Regions from separate parts of the Homo sapiens genome. Here region 1 is linked to region 2. Evidence: promoter capture Hi-C in 16 types of primary human blood cells and fetal thymus (Javierre and others, 2016). All regions are on one chromosome and are shown on one strand. The core of a region is centred on a gene start or on the middle of the fragment in contact, and the rest is flanking DNA. Distances in the headings are between cores, read along the strand shown.

Region 1 (2,910 bases), core at 331-2,830, 380 kb after region 2:
CTGGTCATGTGATTAGGCCATCTGTTTTGGCTAATTGCCACTTATGGAAGTTAGGTTTCTACCCTCCCACAGAGACTGGGAGAAAAGAGTGCTATCTTTCTTGATGATTGCATTTCAAAGAGATGGCTCTCAGGTCCTTGAGACAGACATCACTGGACTGTGAAGCAAGAGACTAGAAGATTGACATCTCAAAGTGAAAGAGTAAAAATTTGCATCTGTAAGCTTTGTAAAGTAAATGTTCTAAAAAAGGGGAGGTCAGGGGCTTATACATTCAGGAAGAAGCCTGTCAAAAGTTTAGTCAAGCTGAAGGGAACCTTAAGAAGGTCTTGATCAAACAAGGGTATTCTCCTGTGGCTGTAGCAGTGGCACTGAGAGGCACAGTCTTCGAGTGTTTTGGAAGCAGTGGGTGTCACTGAAAAGCTAAGACACTGTGAGAAAATAACTCACGAGATACTTCCGGATCTCCTGGAAGCTCTTGGAGAGGTTTGCAAAAGTCTGAAAGTGTGTGCAATATAGGTAGGGGCAAGACCAGTGAAATTTGGGTCATCACCACTAATGTGATCCCATAGCCAGCCAGTGACTGGCAAGACCGAAGAAATACAGAGTATGGAGGTGAAATATTTCAACCTGACTTGGAACATGTTATACCCTTCAGTCCACGGGTGCACGTACTGTGACATTTTGCTGCTTTGTCCTTCATAAAAACAAGTGCTGTGGTAGCATGAAAATAACACTAGACAGACAGCTAAAAGACCTGAGTTTGTTTTTCTTTCTACCGGTTACTAGCTAAACTGACTTGGATGAGGCACCATCCCTCCTGGACTTCCTTATGGGGAATTGGGATAATACATCTACTTCACAGGGTTGTTATCAGGATTAAATCAATATACATGCCATCCTTTGCAAAGCACTATGAATGACAGATTAGAGGCTTTTCTTTTGATTTTTACCCATTACTTAACCAGTAGCCTTAATGTGACCTCAATTGTGTCTCTTTAGGACGGTGGTAACTTTTCATATTCAGATTATTCCTTCTGTGTACCTTTTGGGAAACTTTATTCCAATTCCCATTCATTTAAATGGTATATAATGTTTTAAATTGAACTTTTATCTCTATTTCATCTGTCTTTATTTTTTTTTTGTCTTGGACTTGGACTTCCTTTCTACAACTCTATCTCTTGGAGAACTTTTGTGATAAAATGGAGGTCAGTAGGAACCTTGACCCCACGCTTCTGTCTGAATACACATGTAACTGCTGCATTTGCTCACCACCACCAAAATGCTTCAGTGTTTGGTCAGTGGTTTTTAAGTTCGAAATGTATGCATCTGTTCAAATCTGTGTAAATTGTACTCTCTAGCCGTAAGTTGCTTGATATCAGTATCTATCTATATATAATCAAACAATTATGTTTGTAGAATATCTAAAGAAGATGCCAGAAAAATTTTGTACCCTTTGATAGAAAGTGTGGGTGTTGATTAAAAAAAAAGAAGAAATAAATCCACATTTAATGGGATAGTTAAACATCTGTTTACCAGAAAAAAATTAATTTCCAACTATAAAGGAATTGCTTATTTTTCCATTAAATCCTCAGAACAAACAAATAACAATTTTGAGAGGGCAATCTAAAGATGCAGTCGTGGTTACTTTGGTATTTGACCCTTTTTCTGTAGTAATTTAGTCTGAACAAGACCAAAGTGTGTGCTACTCTTTGGCTTTATAGCCCTCTAACCATAGGCGCTGATGGCATTCACGATTATGGATTAAATAGGGCCAACCCTTGTCAGTAATTTGTTAAAAAATTCCCACAGAGATACCTATGGTGCTGCTGAACAATGATGTTGGTAGTGTGCTATTTTGCTTTAGGAAAAGCTACTGCATTCCAACATGGGGTTCAATGGCTGGTCCTGGAAACCTCGTCTCTGTTTGATATAAGTTAAACCTTGAGTACACTCTGCCTGGTACTGAAATTAACATCTGGGTCCTGACCAAATTCTAACTTGTGAAATTGCAGATTACTTTACGACTGGATAAGAAATGTACTCCATCATATCTTAGCTTTGTTATTTAATTTTGCCTGGGGTTGTTAAATCACTGTAGCATTTTGCCACTGTGTGCAACCAGTGGGCTTTTAGAAATTTTAGCATGAAAGGCTCTCAAGAAAACATGAAACTCTTTTAACATAAGGTTATCTCCAGGAGGCTACTTTTTGGTTTAGTTATGTGATTGTATTTGAACAAATAGATTTTCTTTAGTTCTACTTAGTGTTCTTTTTTAAACTGATGGACTTTCACAATAGGTTTTCAGGTCTTGGCTTTTCAGTTTCATTTTTGGGGGTGTGGAAGTTTCAGAGTGAGATACAAACTGATTTGTGAGATGAAAAATATTAAAGATATGATCATTTGACAGTAATTTGGTGATCTGATTTTTTTCTGGAAATAACAAAGCTAATATTCTTAAGTGAGCGAAAAAATTTTTGAGGACAGCTACTGGATAGTTGAATATTTTATCCATTAATGAAATTGTTCACATTTTGAAGAGATTATTAACTGTGGTGCAATTGGATTCTTTGTGAAGTGGCAGCAAAAGGCTTCTTGGTTTACACCAGGGTCAGCAAACTACACCTTGCAGGCCACATCAGGTCTACCACTTGTTTTGTAAATAAAGTTTTACCGGGGCATAGTCATGCCCATTTGTTTATGTGTTTTCTGTGTCTGCTTTTGTAAGAGACTATATGGACTTTAAAGCCTAAAATATTTAGTATCTGTCCCTTTCTAGAACAAGTTTGCTTACCTCTGCTTTACATCATTAACTTGATCCTGTGGAGTCAGAGCTGGCTGTGCACATCCTCTAAACCAAGGGAGAAACAAATTACATATTTGAGAAACAATGCTAAGATTTTCCCATCCCTT
Region 2 (2,910 bases), core at 145-2,644:
AAACTGCCTTGATCAGCTATCAAAGTTTTAAACATTTTTAAGTACTTACCAAACATCTGGATTGAACAATGCCAGACGCAAGAGATACAGTGTTGCTCCAGTAGCTCCAGTTCCAATAAATACAAAGAGGGGGATCAACTAAACCAAACACAAAATAGAATAACCATCTTCAAATACTTAAAACACTGGCCAACGAGAGATTACAGTAGTTTCTGCACATTGATTTCCAAGTCTCAAACTGTTATTGGACTGTTTTGTCTTAAAATTTAAATAAAGTAGATCTTACATTGAGGTAAGATTTCTTATAACTGTGTTCTAAAGAAAGAAATGGAATTTGGAAAGGATGTTAAGATGACTCTGGTTTAAGTGTCTTACTTTTTAATGTGGAGCAAATTATAGGTACATTTTTAAATTTCCAAGAAAATGTATCGAGTCTTCTTCACCTCTCTAATATTTACATGTCATTCCCATTAAATTTTCTGGCTTCCTTTATCCTGGGGCTTGAAAAACAAATTCTTTGCAAATTATTTAAGGGTGCCTCTATAAAGATGTATGAAAAATAGAATCTGAATAAGTAAACGTATCTATTACAAATACTGGCTTTAAGCATTATCTCTGAAAACGTAATGCTACCAATGCTTGCTGCGTATTTAGGGAACCGGATTTAAGACAGATTAAAGATTGCATAGACTTTTAGCTCTACAGCACATTGATGTGCTGAGGAAAAATGAGATGCCAAAGAACTTAACTGCAATTTCCACACTTCGAAATTTTCCCAAAAGCAACGACGTCCAGACAAAGTGAGGATTCCAAGATCACGGACCCCTCTTATTTACCAAAAGGCCTGGTGGTGCAATGCGGCGAATACAAGAACCTCCAGAGATGGTATAACACATAGGGAACCTGACCTATGCTAGTCTCTGACCCACACAGCGCACATCTATCCCTCCTGGACCGCACAACCTGCAAAAGAGAGCGGCCACCAGACTGTTCCAATATTCACTAACTAGAAAAAACTAGGTTTTTTTTCCGAGCAGTGTCCGTCTCCTTCCTCCTGTCAGACAAAACCCCACAATGCATGGCGTAGAGGGTCACAGAGGCCTGGGACAACTAAGATGACAAACACTAGGCGAGGCAGGGTCTGGTCTGACGGACGGTAAGTGGCTGTAAATGAGGACGTTCCCAGGGAACAGAAAGAGGCGCACCCCGACGCAAGAAGGACAAGGGAAAACATTAGGAGAGCGGTCACGAACTTACGCTCGGATGCTTCTTGGCCTGACCGATGATCTGGCGGAGCATGTTTGCGGCAGAGGTCTCCGACTGGAAAGGAGAGAACCGACCTAGCCACCAGGCCCTAAGCTAAAAATTATCTGCAATGAGACACTACGGACTTCCAAAGTCACCCAGGACCTCCTACCTGAAGGACCCTTGGCTGGGAGGGCAGCTTGCGGCAGGAGGGCCCGGATGCGACTGTCTTTAATAGTGCCTGCTTAGATCTAACCCCTCATATGTTCGTCCTGACCTGGTCGGACCATCATCATTCCACTTCATAGTGAAATGCCTTCATTGCCGTGCCATGCATATTTCTGAGGGGAATTTTTTTGGTCGAAACGAGGACTCTTCGATTGACCAGACAGGCACTTTCCAAGGGTGCCACGTACTGAGGAATGCGGTCGGAGCGTGGGCGCACGGGCCGCGCGCTCCGTGAGTAGGGGGCCTCTCCCGCGGCGCCTGAGAGCCGGGTCCGCGCGCAGAGGCCCTGGGGGCGCGCGTGCCGGGTGCGCGCTGGCCAGCTGTGACTGCCGCTGAGGGAGCTGCGCGGCGCCTCTGGGAGCCGAGCGCCGGGCGCCTGGAGGGCAGGTCGGGCCTCTTGCCGCTAAGGTCAGCGGCTGCGGTTTGAGAAGACTGCAGCTGCTTCCTGTGTTACGCTGTCGCAGACAAGCAGAAGTTAAAAACTAGTAAATGACTTAAAGGTGATAATAGTCCTGGCAGTGTATTTCTGAACCCTCAGATCCTGGCCCTCGGTTGAAAGTTCGTCGCCACAAAGACCTTTCCAACACGCCACTATCCCCCGTCCCTGGTCCCAAATTGCATCTTTAAAATGTGTTTTCAATGGTCGTGTAGCTACAGATAATCTTTCCCACTACCCCAGTCGAATTTTCATTTGTCTTTTGTTTTGTTTTCTTCGTTGTTTTTTTTACCCGAAGGACTTCCATAGGACAGGCTTTGCGGGGGAGGGTGGGGGGATTGGGATAAAATGTACACTCTGAACCCTCTCCAATCTCATACGTAGCTTAAAGCATTAATCAAATGATCAAGCAAGTATTAATAATTGGGACTAGAAATCATAGGAGAAGGCTCCACCGGAAGTTACACTAGCTCTGAAGGAGGAGCGGACATTAACCAGGTGAAAACGGAGGATGCAGGTGTACAGGGCGGAGGTAATAACACGTGAAGGTCTGAAGCTATTGAAAACCCGAGGGAGCTGTATGAGGTCTAGTGTGGCTGGAAAGTAAAAGGGAGAGCAAGGTGGGGATCAGATCTGCTGGGCCAATAACCGCTTAAACATCATGGGTTTTATGTTGAGAGCTTGGGAAGGTTGTGTTTTTAAATGATTGCTTTGTGAATAATTGATTAGAAGGGATAAGCGTGAGAGGGGAAAGACCTATCAAGGGGCCATTGCAATAGTCCATAATCTGTGTGACAGATAATGGTAGCTTGAACTAGTGTAGAGAATGTAATGATGAGAAAAAAAGATTCCAGAGATGTTTAGAAGGTGGCACCAACAGGACTTGGTGGTTGGCTCTCCAGGAGTGAGGAGAGAGAAGTTAAGAATAATTTCAGAGGTTCAGTTTTGAGCAGCTCTGTGGTTGTTGATGCCAGTTATTGAAATAAGCCGTAGAGAATGAT

Evidence for each region. Contacts are between HindIII fragments. The CHiCAGO score rates a contact against its expected background, and 5 or more counts as called.
Region 1: a fragment that was not itself captured here is called in contact with the fragment with the promoter of COXFA4 in region 2 in 1 of 17 cell types (M0 macrophages); the score reaches 5.1 in M0 macrophages.

What each region holds. Positions count from the first base shown.
Region 1 is chr7:11,315,678-11,318,587 of GRCh38, forward strand. No RefSeq gene overlaps it. Among named protein-coding and RNA genes, the nearest start is that of PHF14, 340 kb to the left of the region's middle. The HindIII fragment of the contact is 2,721 bases long and covers 221-2,910 here.
Region 2 is chr7:10,938,759-10,941,668 of GRCh38, forward strand. It overlaps COXFA4 (cytochrome c oxidase associated subunit FA4), which reads right to left and starts at 1,395. Exons shown (of 4, transcript NM_002489.4): 1 at 1,258-1,395; 2 at 50-138. The coding sequence starts at 1,299. It overlaps LOC107986767 (a long non-coding RNA gene), which reads left to right and starts at 1,498. Exons shown (of 3, transcript XR_001745091.3): 1 at 1,498-1,973. RefSeq lists enhancers at 1,378-1,647, 1,532-2,452 and a silencer at 1,678-1,927. The HindIII fragment of the contact is 7,174 bases long and covers 1-2,910 here.